Regions from separate parts of the Homo sapiens genome. Here regions 1, 3, 4, 5 and 6 are each linked to region 2. Evidence: promoter capture Hi-C in 16 types of primary human blood cells and fetal thymus (Javierre and others, 2016). All regions are on one chromosome and are shown on one strand. The core of a region is centred on a gene start or on the middle of the fragment in contact, and the rest is flanking DNA. Distances in the headings are between cores, read along the strand shown.

Region 1 (3,424 bases), core at 92-2,591, 560 kb after region 2:
GCATCTCTTTAGTTCCTCCAGGCCTGCTCCCCACACATCATAGACAGCAGGACCACCCCTGAGAGCCTAGCCTGGCCACCTGGCATGGCCTCATGCCTGCAGCGAGGACATCTAGGGAAGACCACACTGCAGGCCACTGGCTCTGGCCAGGAGAATGTCCTTAAACCACACCTGCACCCCGCTAGGTACAGTTTATTGTGGGAATGGAGATCTGACCTGGGGTTGGTGGGGGATGGCGGGGGTAAAGGACAGAGGTGCAGCCCCTCTGTCCACCTTCCCCTGATCCCTGTCGGTTGGCACAGTAGGGCACAGTTCACCTTGCAGGTGGAAATGTCCACTGCTCCGAGCTGAGGAGGGAAGCCAGGACACACGGAAGGAGTGATGGGAGATTTATGAGCTGGCTTAAGACGGGGTTCTTGGGGACAGGCGTGGTGGGGCAGGCCTGCCTTCCCTCCCTCTGCTGGCCTGGAGAAGAGGTTCCATCAAGCTGCACCCACCCCTCGGTCTCCCTGGGACGTCTGATCAGTGAGTGACTTGTGCACACTTTCGATTATCCCACGCAGGACACAATCGTCAGCCACCGGGGCCCTGAGCAAAAGCCCTGCTCTTGGCAACCAGCCTTCCTAGAAGGCCAACGAACTGCGCCACCCAAAGGACATCTAGGTGAGGCAGCGATTCTTCAAGGAAGATGTCAGATGGGGCCGGAGGCAAGGCCCCCCGCCTCTGCAGAGGGGCGTCCAAGTCCCCAAACAGCAGCGGCGACAGGGAGAGAGGGGACAGTCCAACCTAAGAGGTCCAGGACAGACCTCTGTGCAGGCAGCGACCGACCTGTGAGCGCCGCTCTGGGCGCGGGAGCGAGGCGAGGCGGAGCCACGGGTCAGGGCGGACCCCGGGGAGCTCTGGACTCTGAGAGCCAACGGAAAAAGGGGTCACAAACCACACGCACGTCCCCCAAAAGAAAACAAAACCGGCTAACCAGGCTCATTAAAAGGTGAAGCCCCAGAGCCAGGAAGTAGCTGATTACCTTCAGGTCGTTGAGTAGCAGGATGTGAAGGACCCCAGAGAGCGCATTGGCTCCAGCTTTGTTTGGGGACTAGCTTCGCGGCCACTCCTAGGCGCGCCTGCGGCCAGCGGGTCATGCCTTGGGGCCTGGCGCCATCTGCTGGCCATCGCTGTTCCTAACCCACTGCCCTCCCTACTCCTCACTTAGTTTCCTGTGAGACCTGTATGCAACAACAGGGAGACAGGGAGGCTTGTATCCGCGGCTCACCTACCTGCCTTTGGGCTCTTTTAGTCTCCAAAGCAGCGAAGATTTCCTAAGAAGTGCCCATACTGAAACGCCCTTCCTCTAGGGTCGCTTGAGCCCAGGAGATCGAGGTTGATCGAGGTTGCAGGAAGCTATGATCGGGCCACTGCACTCCAGCCTGGGTAACATAGCAAGACCCCTTCTCTACACACACACACACACACACACACACACACACACACACACACACACACACACACACGACAGAGGCCGGACGAGATGGCTCACACCTGTAATCCCAGCACTTTGAGAGGCCGAGGAGGGCGGATCACTTGAGGTCGGGAGTTCAAGACCAGCCTGGCCAACACGGTGAAACCCTGTCTCTACTAGAAATACAAAAATTAGTTGGGCGTGGTGGCGGGTGCCTGTAGTCCCAGAAGCTCAGGCAGGAGAATCACTTGAACCCAGAGGCGGAGGTTGCAGTGAGCCGAGTTCGCACCACTGCACTCCAGCCTGGGTGATAGAGCGAGACTCCCTCTCAAAAAAAAAAAAACTGAATTTCAGAAATAAATAAATAAAAATAATAAATAAAACATGCTTCCTCTCCTCAGCCCGCACCTGGGTTATGGGGGCAGGGTGCGAGCACACAAACACACACACAACTTCATAGTGGAGGGAACCGACCAGCAATGGCTGACTAACTTGGAAAAGGTAATTGGAGAAGGATATGAATCTCTTCCCAAAACAATCTAAACCCAGCCTCATTGGACAGCTGCTCAGTGAGCCAAATAATAAAGTCAGTGAGCACCTCGAAAACATGCCAATCTATATGTTCAACCATCTCACTGCTTCCTGCAAAATAACGGCTTAAAGGGGGACACAGGCATCTTTGTCATTCCTCTCATTCCCTGGTCCCTGGTCCAGCACACGATGGGATGGGCAGCTGTGCTGGCAGAGGAACCCAGTTCTTCTTCTTCTTTTTTTTTTTTTTTTTTTTTTGACACGGTCTCAGTCGCCCAGGCTGGAGTGCAGTAGCATGATTTCGGCTCACTGCAACTTCCGTCTCCTGGGTTCAAGCGATTCTCCTGCCTCAGTCTCCCAAGTAGCTGGGACTACAGGTGCCCGTCACCAAGTCCAGATAATTTTCGTATTTTTAGTACAGATGGGGTTTCACTCTGTTGCCCAGTCTGGTCTCGAACTCCTGACCTCCGGTGATCCACCCGCCTCAGCTTCCCAAAGTGCTGGGGTTATAGGAGTGAGCCACTGCGCCTGGCCGGAACCCAGTTCTTAAAGATGGAATTAGTTGATTCATTCAACAAATAAGTACTGAGTGCCTCCGAGGTGCAGGCACTATTTGTTGCCAAGAAAGCAGAGAACAAACATGGAATGTTAATGATGCATGCATGGTAGCTGGGAGAGGCAGATGAGAAATAAGGAGACGAGAAATCAGCTACACTGATGAGTGTAGCTGTTACAAGGGAGATGAAATGTCTGGTGATGATTTTATAGTTGAGAGGGCCCAGTGAAAAGGGATCCCTTAGAGTGGCTCTGAATGACTCTGAAAAGCCAGCTTGGGTGCAGAGTGAGCATTCCAAGGAGGACCCCTGAGGCAAGAACAAGGTTAGGTTTGAATGGGACACCCTGCTGTGTGTCTGCAGGAAGAGGAGGAAAGACATGAGTTGAGCATCTTACCTGTGCAGGTATCATTCTAGAACATGAGGTATTTTTTATGAGAGAAACTGGCACTTCCATACAATAGGAGGGAGTACCAGATGTGTAAGTAAGTAACTGAAATGCAATTTCAAAACAGTATCTTCCCCTGCAGAAAAGAATGTTTTCCCAAGATGAAAATCTCATTAGGACAAGAATGAACATTATGTTTCCAGTGTTTTATGATAGAGAAAGTAAATTATTATGATTATTTTTATTTATTTATTTATTTACTTATTTATTTTGAGACGGGGTCTCTGTTGCCTAGGCTGGAGTGCAGTGGTGAGATCTTGGCTCACTGCAACCTCCGCCTCTTAGGTTTGCTTCAGTGATTCTCCTGCCCCAACCTCCCGAGTAGCTGGGATTACATGTGTGTGCCACCACGCCTGGCTAATTTTTGTATTTTTAGTAGAGAGAGGGTTTCACCATGTTGGCCAGGCTGGTATCCAACTCCTGGCCTCAAGTGAT
Region 2 (3,204 bases), core at 23-2,522:
GGGGAGACAGCTTCAATTGCTTTCGGTTGGTGAAAAACGAATTCGCTTCTCAGATTGCTCTCCTAGCTGCCAGGCTCTGACGTTGAGAGGCCGGCTTTCAGCCTCGCGGTGAGCCCCCGCCTTGCCCCAGCCCCTTCCTCTTTACTCCTATCCTGTTTCCACAACCAGGGCAGCCGGACACTGCTGGGTTGGGTGCAGTTTCCTTTCCCTCCCTGCCTTTCTGCACCTACCTGGCGCCCCTAGATGCCTGCCCTTCCTTAACGAAGCGCGGGAAGTGAGGGGCTCCGGGGCTCCGAAGGCGATCTGGGGCCTGGGTCCGAGGCACCCATGTCCCTACTCGGCTTCCTCGATGTGCACTACCAAGGAGTCCTGGGTTCCCGGATCCCCTGCTGGAGGAGGATCTGTAGTGTCCGAAGCCCTGAGCAGGACTCAGCCTCGGCTCTCTAAGGATGGCGCTGGGAGCGCGGGCTCCTGGGGCGAAGATGGGCTCAGCGAACAGGGAAGGAAGGAGTGTACACTCCCAGGAGAGCTGGGTGGGAAAGATGCTTCAAACTGGACTAGAGAAGCACTGCTGTGAGGGATGGGCTCGGTAGCTCCCTGATGTAGTTTAGTCCGACCCGGGATAATCCAAGGCGCCGGGAACAGAGAGAAGGCTCCTGGGAGCGCTTGGAGGTAAGGCGGCCGGGTGAGAACCGGAAAGGAGAAAGGGGTGGGGAGCCAGGCTTACCTGCCCACTGGCCTTTCCACGCGTGAGCTTTGGTAGACTTCATCCATGGGAAAGGCAGCTGGACGCGGTTGGGCTCCTCCAGGACGCCCGGCTCGGCTCCCTCCGGGAAGGGCCCGGCGGGCGGGTGGGGGAGCGCGAGCTGAGCCGGGAGGTGGTGGTGAAGGTGCGCCACCGCGGGGTCGTCGGCGAGGGGGGGCACCTCGTACGGGGAGATGTCCGGGGGGCTGCCCTGCTCCAGCGCGCCCAGGGCGCCAGGGAACGGGTGCGGCGGCGGCGGCGGGGGCTGGCGGCCCATGTACAGGCACGCAGGGGGGCTGGCGCTGAACTCCGGCGCCGGGCCTCGCTGGAACGCGCATGGGTCCTTGTAAAGCTGCGTGGCCGCGTAGTACTGCTCCTCGCCGTTCATGGCTGCGGCCCGGGATTGGGCACCGGGAGCCGGGAGCCGGGAGCCGGGAGTCGGGAGCTGGAGCCGGGGATTTGGCACTGTGTGGCGTTCCCACTCCCGGCGCCACCCCTGCTCGCTTTGACAGCTCCGCACTGATCTCAGAGGGAACCCACAGCCAGCGCGGACCGGCGGGCCGGCCGCCGCACCATAGGCTCCGCGGGGCCCCACGTGGTTCAGCCGGGGGCCGTGATTGGCCTGGCTGGCCGCACTAAGAGGCTAGGCCCAGGTACCCGCGAGCACCTGCTTTTGTTCCAATTTTCTCTCTCAGCTGAGTTTGCTGCACACTCCTGAACGGGCAGCTGGCGGTGCTCCCCAAAATGGGCGCTCACGAAAACATTAGAACCACTCATTTATAGAAACATTTTCACCGTGGCTTAAAAGTTTCTATTTTCCTATATTTTTCTATTTTCTATTTTCCTATATTTTTTCTATTATATTTGATAATGGACATAGTGTGTTTGTTAATTGATGTAGTTTACAAGGAGACATGTTGAGTTTTTAATTTTTTATTTAACTGTTGCGGAATACGATAAAAAAAAAGTTTGCAGACCCAGCTCTCTAGGTCAGAAGCATTTGATTCTATTTTATTTATGAAGTTTGTTCACAGCCACAAAGATGTCGGTTAAAAAACACACGAAACTCTGGCATTCGTTGTGTGTTTTTACTTGTGGATGTGCTGCAAGTACTTCTGGGGTGTAAACGGTAACTTCTGAAGCATTCACAGAGACTTTTTTAAATTCTTTTTTTTAAAAAATTGAAGGGTATTACAAATTTGGGTTTTGGAAAATTGGGGCCCATTTGGCCAGCCCGGAACGTAGCTTCCCAATACAGCGAGGGGGAAAGACGCGGCCTTCCTCTTGGGGCTGCGAAGCAGGGGCAGGTGTTGGCACGGGGGTTCCAGACCCTTGACGACTCTCTACGGGCCGGGACCCTGGCGGAGTTTGCCGGCAGAGAACACTCACTCTCTTCTGCTTGCAATTGAAATAAGGCAAGCAGGAGAGGGGGAAGTGGAGGAAGAGTTACATATTTAGAAAAAGAAATAAAAACGCTGCATTTTCCATGATAACATCTGTGCTTGGCTTCAAACCATTCAGTAACTTCTGGGCATTCTGGGGTCCTGACTTAAACAGGGCCACTTTTTCTGCACCCACTGACGCGGATGGATGACCTCCGGGTGGCGGTGACGTCCAACCCCCTGCCTGGGCATGATCCGCTAGGCCTGGCGGCCTGACCAGCCTCTGACTGGATACTCCCGAAATGAGGACGTTTCTCGAAACGCCACCGTGGGTTTTAGAAAAACTAGACAGCTTTGCAGAAACGTCTCAGCAAGAGAGAGCTTGAACCACAAAGAACCAAGCCAGAGAAAAATCACTGCTCCGCCTTTCCTAAACAACGCACCAACATCCAGACCTTTGAGAGTCAATCTTAATGTATTTCTTTCTTCCTACTGGAAATATTTGTGTTTTAAGTGCGGATTGAGTGCTCTATTCTGAGGACTCTTTATTTTTATTAAAAGACAAAAAAGCCAGTCGGGAATGTGGACTTCTCTGCAGATTCCTTCTCTTGCGGGAGGCCGGTATAGTCTCAGCATTTGCTTCGATGTGTGAGAACTCATGTGTGTGGCTTCCTGGCCTGTGGCCTCATGTGTGTGGCTCTGATGTGTGGCTCCCTGGCTTGTAGATGCCCTTGCTGTCACCGAAGACAGGCCAAGGGAAGCACGGCGGCGGGCGGGGAGAGTTTCGGTGATTTCTTCAGGGAAAAGTGCCACCTGCAGTTTTGGTGGGGGCAGAGAGTGAAAGGCCGTGGGGCCCGGGCACCTAATCTCTGTGCGCCCGCGTCAATGAGTCCATTGTCTGCGGCCGCGGAGAACTCTACCCTATCACCCTGGCCGCGAGTGACCACATCGATCAGGAGGGCAGGCTGGAGGGGGTTGCCTGGCCGCGGCGTGTTGACCCTTGGAGATAATCTGCCGAGTCGCCGAGGGTTGACTTGGCGACGCGGTTATGAGCGGACGGCAAGCTCCGCTCAGGAC
Region 3 (3,605 bases), core at 678-3,177, 540 kb after region 2:
CTGCAGATGAGAAAACTGAGGTATAGAGATGTTAAATAACTTGTCCAATTACTAAGTTGCAGAGATGGGATTCAAAACTGACTCAAATCTGAAAGTTCATGCCTTTTCCCTGCACTGTGTTTTCTCCTCTCATAAAACAGATCCTTCAGGACCCGGGGGGCACGATCTCCATGTACTGGCTTCTCTCAGGATCTTCCGAGCTGGCTGAGCTGGCTCTCCTGATGCTGAAACGTAAAAGTTCCCCTGTCCCCCTCGCAAGGCTTGCGATAGAGGGTGCGCCTCGCCTTTTCAATGCCGCACTGCTCAAACCTCTAGAGGCGCATACAGACGGGCAGGCTGTGGGGCTCCAACCCTACAGCAGTGGCTAGGGGTGAATGTTTACAGCTCCTGAAGCCTCAGTGGGCATGTGTTACACGGTACTCTTTTAAGAGTTTAGCTGTCTGCAGGCAGCTTGTGTTAGCTCAGTTAGATCCCCTTCCATATTATCACAAGGACAGAAGGATTTCTGTATCCTGGGGTTTCCTGCCTTGGTGTACTGGAAGAACCCGATCACACGTGAGCTTGGAGAATGAGTGCAAGGCTTTATTGAGTAAAAGTACCTCTCGTCAAACGGGGGAGCCAGAAGGGAGATGGTTTTCCTTGTGGAGCTGGGCCACCTGGCGGCCTAGGCTCTCCTCAGACTGCCCCGTCCAAACTCCGCCTCCTTCCGCGGGTCAATGGCCTGCCAGCATCTGTCTGAGTGCTCTTCTGCCGGCATGCTCCCCTTGATGTCTCTCGATGTCCAGCCGCTTGTCTTCTTTCATCGATTTGTTTTTCTCCACGTACAGCGGCTTGTGTGTCTGCCTGCTAGGGTCTCGGGTTTTTATAGGTCCAGGATAAGGGTGTGGAAGGTCGGCCAGGGTGGTCTTGGGAAATGCAACAAAAATGCCTGTCCTCACCAAGGTCCATGGGGGTGGAGCCCTAGCCAGGGACCACGCCCTCCTCTACCCTGCACTTCCCTTACCCCCTTCTGTATCATTTAAAGGGACCACGCTCTTCCCTTCCCAGCACCCCCATATCAAGGGTTGGTCCTCCTCCAGCAGCTATGTATCTGAGAGGCTCCTGATGCAATGGCTCAGCATCACAGTTGAAGGACACACACTCCTGCCTTAGAGCAATGGGGAGACCGGTTCCCACAGGAACCGGTTCAGCAAAGGCAGCAAGATGCCAGCCATCAGAGATAAAGGCTGCTGCCACCTATTGAACCTCACAGTGCACAGTAAGGACAGTCTCCAGGACTTCTCCCCCAGGGAGCTGAGCTTTGGGAGAGTAGAGAATTTGCATCAATCACTGAAAGAGACAGAGGGGCCCGTGCCTCTTACACCAGTAAATGGTATATATTACCAAATGCTGGAGGGCGCGAAATGTTTCCTAACTGTGTGATTAGGAATGTGATTCCCACCAGCGCAATTGATCAGGCCACTATGCTACTTAGAATCCTATTTGGGTTTTGTTGTTGTTATTAACGAAGCAGGAATGCAGAGATTATAAATATGATTATTTTACAAATAAGGAAATGGTCCTAGGGAGGTCACCAGAGTGGCCAGGCTCAGACTAGAATGTGTTTGAAATCAATTTATAAAAAATGAAGTCATTTTAAAGATGAAACTGGCATCTTTGCTTATTTTCTGAACTGTTCTCCTAATGAAGAAAACATATTGGGTATTACAGAACAAAGCTCATCTCTTTAACTGGCCAGGCTGATCCAAGAATTGAATACATGAACGACAGAAGGGACATTTTCATGGGGACTTTTCTCTTTAAGAGGCCCCCACGTAGTTGCCCCACTTCCACAAATGTTGCAAGCTAAAGAGCCATACAAATGTCTTAAGGGAGAATAGGGGCCTGATCCGTCTTGTGCCTCTGACTACTCATTTTCCTTATTAGTATAGGTGTGACCTCAGTGTGAATTTTTGCAGAAAAGTCTGGCAACATTTCCTGCTGAGCACAAACAACAAATTACGTGGGGAGGACATCAGCACGATATTCTTCCAAGGACCATGTTAGTCTTATTTGGTACTGCCATTCTCCAAAGGTATCGTGTTGCATGGACACATATATTCTTGGGGAGCATTAATTATTTTAAAAACATGAGTATATGCCAGCTGACATGTCCTGAGAATATTATTGCTAGTTATCCCCAAACTGCCCTACTTTCAGGACAGAGACTGTGTCCTGTACCTCTGTGGCCCCTGCCCTGGTTGTCTGCCCTACCGGAAGTGCTCGTTAAACTTACGGAATGACTGACTGATTGTGTGATGTTTATGTATTCAGCATTGCTAAACAGAGCGGAGGACAGAAATGGTGGTAGGTGTGGGGGGCTCAGGGCTGGGGACATGTCAGATATAACCATATTACTCCCTCGGGCCCTAACCCTAACTTTCCCAGCCTGATAAGTGGGGACTAAGAGGCATGTCTGTGAGAAACAACTGTCCTCACACCCTCTTATTAGTGTAACTCCCTCAAGTCCATTATGAAGGAATTTGTAGAGAAGCAGAGAAGCTGACTGTAAGCTCTGCGGCCCCAGGCAATTAATCTCTAGATGGTGCAGACCCGGGCTCCTGCCCCGTGCCCCCAGGTTGGAATGTGGGATTGCCCCTCGACTGCAGGTGTGGGTGGGGAGGGCCGCCCCTCGTCGGGCTTGAGTCTGTGATGTTGGAGCCGCCCGGCACTAAGAGGAAGCCCATTCTCCAAGCCCAGGCCAGGCCAGGCCGCACCGGCCCCGCTCCCGCATTGATCCTGGCCAAACGAACCCCCCAGCACCTGGGTCTCCCTTGCTGTAAACACTTTTATTTCACCCCTCGGTTTATGGCCTCCCCTTCCAAAGGATCACAACTTGTTTAAACCGGCTCTAAACAAAGGGCTGTCACGATTACAGACCTGCTGCTGGTTTTATGGTGGGCTTCCTTTGTCTAATTCTCTCCCACTCCCTTCCTTCCTCCCCACACCCCACGGCCAGGTACCCAGGCCTTTTAAGAGAGGCCTTCTAGCCAGCTGCTGGGAAGGGAGGGTGAGGGTGCGCTTCCGACTCTCACATCTGGTACCCCTCAGCTGGGGCTGGTTGCCCCCACAGGAGGGGGGGATAGGACAGGTAGGAATCCCAATGTTCCTGGGGTCAGGCTACAGCACGTCCCCCGCCCCCAGGAACGAGAAGAGGGTCTGAGGGTGTCCTCTGGGGGTTCACCTACCACACTGCCTTATAGGGGCCGGGTCCAGCGGGGCTGGGATAAAGAAGGATACCACAGGTACTGTTCTGTTCCTTCAGCCATCCAGACAAAGCCCACACGCCACTCAGCACTCAGGGAATGGTGGAGGCAGGTAGGACTCCTCAACAAGCCAGCTCCGCCCTGCCCAATGTGGGGCTCTGCCCATTGCAGGGACATCCAGACTCCGCTGCAGACACTGAGGACCCTCCCCAGGCACCTGGGCTGAACAGACTCCAGCTAGCATCCTTCTCTCCTTTGCTGCCTGCCTGCCGCTTTTCTCAAGAGGGTGCTAACTCCCCTACCGCCCCTCCCCCACCCCCCCCCCGACTGGGCTTCCTCTAGGAGGCTAGATGGGCAGAA
Region 4 (3,589 bases), core at 963-3,462, 970 kb after region 2:
CTCCAGCCTAGATGATCAAAGCATGTGTGGCCATAGGCGACATCCACATCAAGAAAGGAGGTCTTTTCCTAGAGCTACCAAATCACCATATGGGCTCGAGGCGGCCCTGTAGGCTGAGCCAGTCCCAGAACCTCCAAGTGACATTGGCCCTGGGGAGGTCCTAGGGGCTGAGAGGGAGGCACCACTGCAGGCTCCTTCCTCCAGAACCAGCAAAGGTCTCTGAGGACAGCCCCTCAGTCCCAGAGGGAACGTCTGTTTGAAAACTGCATTTTTGCCTTAGGGCGCACTATGGTCTTAGTACCAAGTAACTCAAGTCAGGAAGCATCAATGATTTTGACACTGTTTTCCAGATAGAGAAAGTCTAAACTGAACACCGTCAAGCGGTATTAGGGAAAATGGACAGGGCTGACAGCAAAAGGTTAGTGGATTAGAAAGAAATAGAGTGACTTCTGTGAAGGCACTGGTTCTTTTCAGGTGTACTGGGCTCAAAGCCATAATATTGGCCCTAAGATCCCCTCTATGTGGCTGCCTAGCTGGCTGGAGACAGTCCAAGGGCAACTGGTCCAGCTGCTCCTTTATCCTATCCCTTGGAAAGTGTAGCAGGCTTTTTCCTATGAGGTCCTCTGGAAAACGGTCTCTTTGCAAGAGAAGCCCACACAGGTTGCTAGAAGCAGGTGAGTCGGGTGGCCCGGGGTCAGGGTGGTCCAGCACCCTTTCCTGTGGAAGAGCATCAAAGGCCCCCAGCCCTGTCCTTGGCCAAGGCAGCAGGCCATCAGGAGGGAGCCTGCTCACGCCCCACGCTCCCCGCTACTCATGGTCAGGTCCATGTTGTAGAAGGCCATGAAGGGGACTTTTATGACCCATAGAATTGTTTCCGAAACATTATCAGCTCTGATTATTGGCTACAAATTTTCATCTGAAATCAGAGAGTCATAGGCTTTTACAGTGCAGTAAAATGCATATTAGCTGGTTCTGGAGTTGTCTCACCTCCCATTTACTCCACCGTTTTATCAATATTGCCATAATTTGACACTTGCCAATAGAGGAAGATTGTAAAGTGTCCATAGATCCTGTAAACCGTACTAAATAGAGATTAGGATTACTACTAAGTTTAAACTCTAGTAAAAGATAATTAAGTTGATGGATGTGGCTGTAAATCTCCCTTTTATCAAGTGCTTGCTCTCACACGAGCAGCGTCTGGCCTTATTACCTTACAGCATCATTAATGCCCCGCAGTATCTGAGCCTTCAGTGGATGCTGAGTGAGGAGACAATGAGATGTGCCACTGGGCCAAAGAAATCTGTGTGGGAGGCCCCCCTCCCTTCCCTTCTCCTTAAGGCAGGGCACAGCCAGGGTGGGAGTCTGCATGCTGGGACCACCTGGTGCCCAGGGGCAGGAACAGGGACAGGTAGCCCCAGGACTGCATTCCCAGCCCATCACCCATTCTGGTCCCCAGATCTCTCTAGGTCCGGGGCCCTGGGTGCCTAAAGGCTGCTGTTTCTGGTGCTGTGGAAACCAACCCTTTTTTCTAGATGCCCTGGTGGGGCCTTTGCTTTCTGCAGACAGTCGCACCTGTTGTCCAATCATGCTGCTTCTGGAGAAAATATAACTGCCAAACCACAATTCAGCTGATTCACCTCAAGCACTGACGTGTTTCTAAAAGATGGCTGTGCTCGGTGCCACACTGCAAGGGGGCACCCTGGGTGGTAGCCTGTATCTGAGCAGCTCCATCCCAGCAAAATGACTCGCTTCACACACGAGGATCTACAGGGCCCTTGTCCGCCTTTGACCAAGGTGGGAGTTGGCACGAGGGCTGAGCAGAGAGGGTTGGCCCTTGGACAGTGGGGCCATGGCACCTCCTCTGTGAAGATGCACCTCTGGGGCTGCTGTGCTAAGGAATAGCCAGCGCGGTGTCCTTGTCCCCACTCCACCCTTCCCACGTGTCCACAGTTGATCCGAGCCTCTGTCAATGGCAAAACCAAACAGAGCCAAGGTGAGCTGCCTTAGGCCTGGAATGGACTCCTAGTGAGGGGCAGACTCCAGAACATTGAGTCCATGTGTTTGCCAAAAGCTGGCTCATTCTCCATCTGGCCCCTTCTCTCCAGGGCCACGGGGAAGCATGGACATTCTGCTTGTTGCCGATCCATTTCCCCTGCATGGCGGTGCTGACAACCAGATCCCAGGTCCCAGGGCAGGGAGGAGATGGTAGCAGCAGGGGTGTCGTGGGCTGGTTCAGGACTGGTCTGTGCCACTGGGACTCTAGGTCCTAACTCAGTGTCAGGTGGAGGCTTTTTTGGGCTCTAGTCTTTGCAGACACCCCGAAGGCCCTATCTGGCTTCAACAACGGGTTTACTCAGATAACATCAACCCCTTTTGAATTCCGGTTGACCAGCAACCCATTATTTATGGGATGGAGGGCCTGGAAGCCAATGGCCTCCGGAGCACCAGCTCCTGACCTTGGCTGTGATCTTGGATGGGGCCTCTGGGTAACTGGGCTCAGGGCGTTCGGGCTGGCCAAGTTCTCAGGCCATTGGGTGAGCTGTGCTCTTTGGCTGGCCTTGACTATAGAAACTGGAACTTGGAGAACAAGGAAATAGGCCTACAGCAGAGTCATCTGGGAGAGACTGGATTTAGCTACAGCAGATAAACACACTTTTTTTTCTTTTTATTGCCCAAAGCTAAGCGATATGTACCTTGGTTGGAATTAGCAGGCTGAAAGTTCAAGAGATAAGCAGCTTCTGTTGGCGTGAGTGATCAGACTCATGGGGGCTTATTCAAGAGGCCCTGCCTTGGGCCTTGTCACCTTTGGAACATTTAGACCGCTGGGCTGGCACGGGGCTGGTCGCCCCTGCCTGTTTCACAATCCCTAGCAACAGGGAGCATGAGCAGGAGCTGGCACAACCTGTCACCTGGGCTTCACCTGTGTGTGCCGTGGTGCTGCGGTCTTTATTCCCGATTCGAGTTCTGCAGGGCCACTAGAGGCAGAGATGGCAAAGATTTAGGGTCCTGGGCCAGGCCTTCCTGGAACCCACAGCCTGGCAGCAGGAAACCCCAGGTGGAGCTTAGCAGCAGATGTGCACATCGGCCTCTCTGCACCTGGCCACGGGAGAAAAGTAGCCTCTGCTGAAACCAAGTTATTTGAACATTTGCAGTTGGCTGGTGTGCTTGTTAAAAGTGTGTTTTGGCTGAGCGCAGTGGTTCCTGTCGGTAATCCCAGCACTTTGGGAAGCTGAGGTGGGCGAATCATGAGGTCAAGAGATCGAGACCATCCTGGCCAACATGGTGAAACTCCTCTCTACTAAAAACACAAACATTAGCTGGGCATGGTGGCACACGCCTGTAGTCCCAGCTACTCGGGAGCCTGAAGCAGAAGGATCGCTTGAACCCGGGAGGCGGAGTTTGCACTGAGCCGAGATCGCGCCACTGCGCTCCAGCCTCGTGACAGAGCGAGACTCTGTCTCAACAACAACAACAACAACAAAGTGTGTTTCCTGGGGCCCTTCCGCAGGCCTCCCCAGTCAGGGAGTGTGCAGCAGCGTTCACGCGCTCAGATTGGGGAACTACTGGCTGGGCCCCTGATACCTGACCC
Region 5 (3,712 bases), core at 563-3,062, 620 kb after region 2:
TCATCAGTAACAATGTTGTGGAAATCTATTCTCTTTTGTCCTAAAGACATATATAATTGCCTCAATTTTGCCTCTTTTCCCCTAAGCCTAAATATTTACTATCTGACCCTTTACAGGAAAAGTTTGCTGACCCCTAACATACAGGCAAACAGCTCATTATAACATGGGGTACTCTCTCACACAGGTGCCAGCAAACTTAGGAAGTCAGAGAAAGGAGCAATGGGACCCAGTGGGAGGATTAGACACTGGTCTATGGAGAGCACAATGTTTGAGCTGGAAACTAATACAAGCGGTTACCTTTGGGTACATGGGGAGGAGCACAAATTGGGTGGATGAATACAGGAAGAGAAGTGAAGATTTTCACTTTATACCTTTTTACATTTTTAAAAATTTCTAACCATATGAAAACATACACATTTCAAAAAACAAAACTTGAAGTTTGAGCTACACCAGACATATTGGCTGTCGTCCCCCACGGAGAAAGTTCTGTGAAGGGCCCAGGTGAGGAAGGAAGAATGAGAGCCCAAAGCTCGTGGTGAGGACCTGGAAGGATGTCCTTGAGGTGGAAATGGCAGAGCCCGGTATCTACCTTGATGACAAAACCATGCCCTGCTCTCCTGGATGGCAATCCTGTCTGATAAAGCTTTGCTCAAATGTTGAAAGCTGCCATGGTGCAAAGGACACTTAACTGGGGAACGAATCCAAGTGAGTGATCTTTCTGAACACCAGGAAGCTGGCAGAGCTATTAACTAGATTGCTCACTGGTTTTCACGTGTGTCAAACTTCTCATTCTGCAAATGGGCTGTCCCTCTGGCCGGGAATAGGAAATTTGTGGCAATTCTCAGGAGGGAAGGGAACATTCTGTTTCAAACCACCAACCCTACTCTAAGTGGAAAATAATGTAAAACTTATTGTATTTGCAACATTACATTAAGAATGATGCAAAACTTACAAAAAACAGAATTTGGGGTATTTTTGTATAAATGGAACTTGAACACAATTCCATCTAGCAGTTGAACTGGTAAATAAGTTGACAATTTTACTTTCACAAACATTAACTGGAGAGACTACCACAGGAAGGATATACAAGGACCCGGCAAAAGTGAGTTGGCATTGAGGGAGTGAGTCCAGGTGACTGGAGTCAGAGCTTTCCCTTCCACTTTATTAAAAAGGAAAAGGAATTCAAAAGAAATAGGAGGAGGAATTCTGTGTATTAGAAAAAAACAAATGTCGCTGAAGAAGGCTAAACTATCGGGCTGCCACGTAATCCTGTTGACCACACCCCATAACTTGGCACTCACGCCTTCCCTGACTTCTAGGACAATGCTCTCTTCTGGTTCTTCCCTCACCTCTCTGATGTTCCTTCATAGCCCTGTCATAGGCTTTCTCTTCTTCACCCATCCATTAATTCCCACAGCCTTGCCACCCATCCTGGTTCTACCCTTGGTTCATCCCCCTTCTTGTCCTCCCACTACACACTTCATTTTGGACAAACTCATTCACTCCCAAAGGTTGATTCCCCAACTTTGCCCCAAGCTTCAAACAGGTGTACCCAAGTGCCCAGATACTTAATGCTTCTCAGTCTCAATATTCCCACTTCTGAATGCACCTAAAAGCCAAGGGAAGACCATTGGGTTGTGGGAGCAAAGGGAAAATTTTCCTTTGTTCTCTGAAGGTTTGCTGAAAAATCAACTGACAAAAGGTGATTAACAGGAAACAGGCATGTAAAATGTATTTACATGCATGTGTGCCCACAGGAGTCATACACAATATGAACTCAAAGAGGGCCGGATGGTTGAGGCCTAAGTACTCTCTTCATAGGGAAGAGACTTAAGGACCTGGGAGGTGGGAGGCAGGCATTAGGGAAGGTGAGGGATGGGGCTGCACAGGAACAAAAGGTGTCTTATGCAGACAAAATCTCCCAAGTCATCTCTTGGAGCTGGCCTCAAAGGAATAGATGAAAAATCTGTCTGGGTGTGTTGATAACACCCAGCCTCTTCTCTTTCAGTTTATTTTTCCTGGTTACTTGATGGGATCCCTAGGCAGGAGGTCTTAAAACAATTTCATATCCTTTGGAAAGAAGCTTTATTGGCCAGATAAGGAAATTTCAGAGAGCTCTTCTCTGCACTTGATGTAGGTAGGGGGAAGAGGACAAGGTAAGGTTACAGGGACCTTGATTCTTGGGCAGCTTCTAAGTCCTCTCCGCATATCAAAGTGCCAGACTTTGGGGTATTGCTTTCTGAACCCCAGTGGGGGCCTCACAGGGGTCGCTTTCTCCATGTGGGGCTTGGCAGGAAAAGGCTTAAATGGCTTGGGAGACAACAGAGCGTAGTTAGCCTCAGGTGGGGACCAAAATGTCGTGTTCACTACTGTACCTCCCCGTTGGCATAGCGTCAGACAGATGCTACAAATATTTGTTGAGTGGAAGGAAGAGAAAGAGGAAAGAAAGGAGAGAGAGATAGGGAGGATGGGAGGGAGGAAAGGAGAGAGAGAACAAGGAACAATCTTGATCAAATCCTAGCTGTTTACTAAATGTATGACCTTGAGCAAATAACTCAGCCTCCTTGTCCCTGGACCTCAATATCCTTATCCATAAAATGAGGCGCTCTCCCCAGGTCGTTGTGAGGATTGAATGAGACCATATATGTAAAATGCTTAGCAAAGGGCCTGATTCATAACAAGTGGCCCATAAGTGCTACTGTGATGACTATACTCTCCAGGGTCATACAGCCGGTGAGGAGCTGAGGCTACAAATATCCAAGGTCTTTCTCTCTGCTGTTGGAAGCTCCCCTGGCATACCCTGGGTTCTCACTGCCCTAAGAGCCCTTTCCCCTCTGGTGAGCACAAGTTCTGTACTGAAAACTGCCAGCCCCATTGTTTCCGTGAGCTTGAAAACCTCTTCGGAGCAGCAGGCTCTGATACATGCAAAGAAGGAGCAGACAGAACCATTAAGACACACTCAGCCTGAATCACTGTCCTCCTCAGCAGGGCTTTGCGGCAGCCTGAGGAGATACTGTTCTCAGCCACTGGACCAGATTGCTCAGGGAGCAGGAGGATGCAGGAAGCACAGGCCACCCGCTCCTGCTGTTACTGACCTAGTTTGGACCGCTTTGCTGGGAATGTGAAGCCAAACCAGATGGAGGGACACCAGGAACCGCTGATGCTAGCTGGAGGGATAGGAGCTCGGGCTCCAGGGAGCTCAGACTTCGGGGCATTCCAGGGCTTGATTTGGGGCACAGAGTGCTCACTTGGTGGGGGGGGATGGCAGTCGTCTTAGTCAGCCCGGCTGCTATAACAAAACACAACAGACCAGGCGGCTTACATAACAGTAGTTTCTTGCCATTCTGGTTACTGGGACATCCAAGCTCAAGGCTCTGGCAGATTCGATGTCTGGGGAGGGTCTTCCTCCTGTTTCCTGGATTATACCTCCTCACCGTGTCCTCACGGGGCAAAGAGAGGAAGCCAGCTCTCTGGTGTCCCTTCCTATAAGGACACCAATCCCGCTATGAGGGCCCCACCCTCAGGACCCCATCTAATTCTAATCACCTCTAAAGGCCCCACCTCCCAATACCATCACATTAGTGGGGAAGGTTTTGAATTATGAATTTTGGAAGGACACAATGGTTCTGTCCCTGTGGCAGGTAACAACCTTCCTGGCCTCCATGTGGTCTTGACCATCCTGACCACAGACAGAGGCCTCTCAGTGAGGGGC
Region 6 (3,606 bases), core at 681-3,180, 910 kb after region 2:
TTACAGGCGTGAGCCACCACGCCAGGCCAGAGATCAGACTTCTTGATGTTTGATCCTTGCTTCCCAAAGTGTGGTCCACAGCTCACATCAGTCGTATCATCAGTTGTACTGGCCAATTATGTTATTAATTAGATTCTGCATTTCTAACAAACTCGTGCAAAATCTCAGGCCCCACCCCTGGTCTTCCCAATCAGAGTCTTTACTTCATCAAGATTCCTGGTGATTCGCGTGCACACTGAAGTTTGAAAAGCACCAGTTTGAGTGACATTTAGCTGGGCGTTCTGTTTTTTGCATTGGGGAGCACCTTAATATAATTGATGTGACTTGCTTTGGATCTACAGACTAAGCTTTGTAAATATTTGGCGTAGGTATAGTAGTTTTCTTGTTATGCAGTATCCTTTTGTCTTGTTCCTTTGGATGGTCAGTTCTCTCCTTCCTCTCTTTTTCATGTGGCTAACGCATGTCTCCTTCAAGACTGAGGTAAGGCATCACCTCCATCAGGAAGCCTCCCTGTCCCCTCCAGGTTGAATCAGGCATGCTGTGTCACATTTTATTTGCATCATTACTTATTTGACTCTTCAGCTAGCACCCAAGTGCAGTGAGGAAAATCTATTTTTGCTCTTTGTATCCTCACTGTCCAGCCCATGTAAAGAGCTGAACGAGTGTTTTTAGAAGACAGAATGAATGTCGCTTTGCCAACCTGCTCCTTGCTGCCGTGGCCTCCCCCACGAGGGCTCCAGGCATCGGAGGCACTGATGTGGCGGGAAGCCAGGTGTGGGATCAGGGAATTAGAACGCCTGCTGTCTCGGCAGCTGTCTCTCCCTCCGTCCCAGCTCCTCGCCCTCCAGAGAGCACACATTTCAGAAGCAGCTGCACGGTCCCCTCCCCACCTCCTCCTATCTCCTCTCTCTTTCCCATGAATAAATGTCACAAGCCCCACAACAGCAGAGGAGGGAATCTGTGGCAAAGAGAAGACCCCACAACTACAAGTCCCTGGAGCTGGAAGCCCCGCACCAGCCTTCTCCATAACCGGAGCCCACCTGTGAATGCCCCCAGAGCAGCCCAGGCGCTGGCCATGGGGTGAGGGGCAGGGAGGAGTGGTAAGCAAGCCTAAGGAGGGCGGGGCTGGGCGGCACTCAGCGCTCGGCACTCAGCGCTCGGCACTCAGCACTCGGCACTCGGCTGGTTAAACCAACGGAGACTATGTGCAGTTAATGGCACTTTCTCATTAAGCAGTTATTAAAAATGGGGTAGTTCTTCCTTGCTAGGTGCTATGCCATCCGTTTCTATGCACTGAGATCTTCAGTGAAACCTGGTTGGCTTCAGCCTGGAAAAGCATGGGCCGTTGCTGCCGGGAGCACTCCCAGGGCAGGTGCGGGAGCCAGCTGTCCAGGTCTGCGCCTGGGATGCTGCTAGGGGAGGCAGAGGTGACAAGAAAGGTCCTCGTTTCCCAGCAGGTGCGGCACGGCGGCTTTCCTCCTTAGCAGGAGCACTCCAGGCGTCTCTGGTGTGCACACATGCTGGGGTGTGCTTGGGAAATCAATTCCTGAGCTGAAAGGCGGCCTCTCCAGCTGGTGCCGCCCCGGGAGGCGGCGCGCTGCTAATGGCTTGGTGTGACTTCCCGCAGAGGAAAGTAGGGAGGCCCCGGGGGGTGGGGGTGGGGGGAAAGAGGAGGCCTGTCCCCAGGGGGGCCCACAGGTAACATTCTTTTGGGAGACAGTGAAAATTTGCAAATGTTAGCTGAGCAAGCCTCTTTAACCAGGAGCCAGGCTCTGTGATGGGCCCTTGGGATTCAGATCTGGATGACCTGTTCCTGCCCTCTCCTTGTCCAGTGGGGGAGATAGACAGACACACAGCCACATTCAATCTGCAACAGAGGCAAGCGCCGGGCCTGAGGGGAGCAAAGAACCCAGACCGAGGGGCAGAAGCACATCCCCAGGGAAGGAGCAGCTCAGCTGTTTCTCAGAAGGACGCAGGTGGAAGGGGGGACACTGGCACTCACTCAGTGCCATGTGCCAAGCACTGTGCTGGGCACTTCCCCCTCCTCTTGTCTCATGACCTCCTCTATAGAAGGGGAACCAAGGTTCAGAGAGGGTACCTAGCTGGCCTGCCATGGGAGCCGCCCGAGCCTCCGCTGTGCCACTCTGCCCACCTTTTGCCAGGGCCGAAGGAAAGATGCTCTAGGCTGTGTGAACTATGTTTTCTAATCTCCGTATTGGATGCTTTGACATCTGGGGACTTGCTGACCTGGAAGGGACTGCTCCTACCAGGGTTAGCTGATTCCTAGAGAAAGCAAATGATGCGGCCAGGAGCTAGTGTGAGCTTTCCCATTCCAGGGCCTTAGTCCCCTGCCCTGATCACCCCAGAGCCAGGCACCGAGCAGCTGGGGACAGCGCCTGTGCCCTAGAGCTCACTGCAATCACTCAAGCCAGCCAATCCTGAGCCTGCTCACTCCCCCTCACCCATTCCTTCCCATGGAAACCACAGGAAAGGCTCTTGGCCCACGTATTCCCTGCTGCCTCTGCCACCAGGCAACCCCGGTGCTTCCTGTGTGGCGTGGCGTGCCCAATCTCCACCCCGCCGGGATCTGTCACAGCTATCTTTTCAGTAGCAGTTGTCTCCTGATCTATTGGCTTCACCATACCTGAAAAATAATATGACCTATATTTTAAAACACAAGCAGAGGGAGTTGCTGGTGTGGCTCCAACAGGAGCGAGTCGTGTACATCCTGTGAGCTGTTTGTGAGGTGGGGACCTGGGAGGGTGGGCAGAGGCCAGTGGGGTCCCTGGATCAGCCTTGCATCCTGAAGGTGCTTAGGGGGCTCCTGAGGATGTGAAGCAGGTTTGTGTTATAGAGCAATCCACCAGGAACAACACACACAGATGAGAGAGAGAGAGAGAGAGAGAGAGAGAGAGAGAGAGAGAGAGAGATTGACAGAGACAGAGAGACAAAGAGAGACAGGGCCCCTTTATCGTAATCTCAGTGGGACAAGAAGAGATGGAACTGAGGCACGATTGGTGGGAATGGGGCAGAGGAGACAGGTCTGCCTTGAGGAGACACGATGGTGCAGGTGAGGTGCTGGTTTAATGAGGAGGTGGGGTGATGGGGAGGAGGCGGAGTTTGGTGAGCCAGTGCATTGGTGGTGGCGGCTCACTGAGATGGGACCAGCTGGGCTGACTGCCTTGGAACACCCCATTCTCATGATGGGAGCCACAAGACTTTCAGATCTTTGAATCCAGGGCTCAGAAAAGCAGATTACAGTAGAGGATTCCAGTTCTGTGTGAGACTTGTCCTTTTATATAACAGTGCTAACCTCATTTATCTTTTGTAATTGGTTATTGTTAAACAACCCTCAAAAATTTAACCAAAGGCCTAACTGCAAACAACCACGTGATAAAGAACAAGCACCTTTTATATGTCAAGATCTCCCCTTAGGGAATTCAAAGATGCTGTTTTTCGGTGTCCCTTAAGAAAAGTTACCACCTCCCATGTCAAAGGACCTGGGAAAGCTTGGGTTTAGAAGTGGAATAACTGTGATGAAGCATTTAAAAATGGGTTTTGATTTGAAATCTGAGATTGATCGGGCAGGCATCCAATATTCTGGAA

Evidence for each region. Contacts are between HindIII fragments. The CHiCAGO score rates a contact against its expected background, and 5 or more counts as called.
Region 1: a contact is called between a fragment that was not itself captured here and the fragment with the promoter of PDX1 in region 2, in 4 of 17 cell types (total B cells, naive B cells, M2 macrophages and 1 more). The highest score is 8.5, in total B cells.
Region 3: a contact is called between a fragment that was not itself captured here and the fragment with the promoter of PDX1 in region 2, in 1 of 17 cell types (M2 macrophages). The highest score is 6.2, in M2 macrophages.
Region 4: a contact is called between a fragment that was not itself captured here and the fragment with the promoter of PDX1 in region 2, in 4 of 17 cell types (activated CD4 T cells, non-activated CD4 T cells, M1 macrophages and 1 more). The highest score is 6.9, in activated CD4 T cells.
Region 5: a contact is called between a fragment that was not itself captured here and the fragment with the promoter of PDX1 in region 2, in 1 of 17 cell types (M2 macrophages). The highest score is 5.4, in M2 macrophages.
Region 6: a fragment that was not itself captured here is called in contact with the fragment with the promoter of PDX1 in region 2 in 1 of 17 cell types (M0 macrophages); the score reaches 5.3 in M0 macrophages.

The regions. Positions count from the first base shown.
Region 1 is chr13:27,359,890-27,363,313 of GRCh38, reverse strand. No RefSeq gene overlaps it. Among named protein-coding and RNA genes, the nearest start is that of GTF3A, 63 kb to the left of the region's middle. RefSeq lists an enhancer at 459-960. The HindIII fragment of the contact is 5,719 bases long and covers 1-3,424 here.
Region 2 is chr13:27,918,068-27,921,271 of GRCh38, reverse strand. It overlaps PDX1 (pancreatic and duodenal homeobox 1), which reads right to left and starts at 1,272. Exons shown (of 2, transcript NM_000209.4): 1 at 728-1,272. The coding sequence starts at 1,133. The HindIII fragment of the contact is 8,603 bases long and covers 1-3,204 here.
Region 3 is chr13:27,380,907-27,384,511 of GRCh38, reverse strand. No RefSeq gene overlaps it. Among named protein-coding and RNA genes, the nearest start is that of GTF3A, 42 kb to the left of the region's middle. RefSeq lists an enhancer at 2,893-3,580. The HindIII fragment of the contact is 3,986 bases long and covers 1-3,605 here.
Region 4 is chr13:26,950,996-26,954,584 of GRCh38, reverse strand. No RefSeq gene overlaps it. Among named protein-coding and RNA genes, the nearest start is that of USP12-AS1, 170 kb to the left of the region's middle. The HindIII fragment of the contact is 4,808 bases long and covers 1-3,589 here.
Region 5 is chr13:27,296,045-27,299,756 of GRCh38, reverse strand. No RefSeq gene overlaps it. Among named protein-coding and RNA genes, the nearest start is that of RASL11A, 27 kb to the right of the region's middle. The HindIII fragment of the contact is 547 bases long and covers 1,539-2,085 here.
Region 6 is chr13:27,004,581-27,008,186 of GRCh38, reverse strand. No RefSeq gene overlaps it. Among named protein-coding and RNA genes, the nearest start is that of USP12-AS1, 120 kb to the left of the region's middle. The HindIII fragment of the contact is 3,162 bases long and covers 350-3,511 here.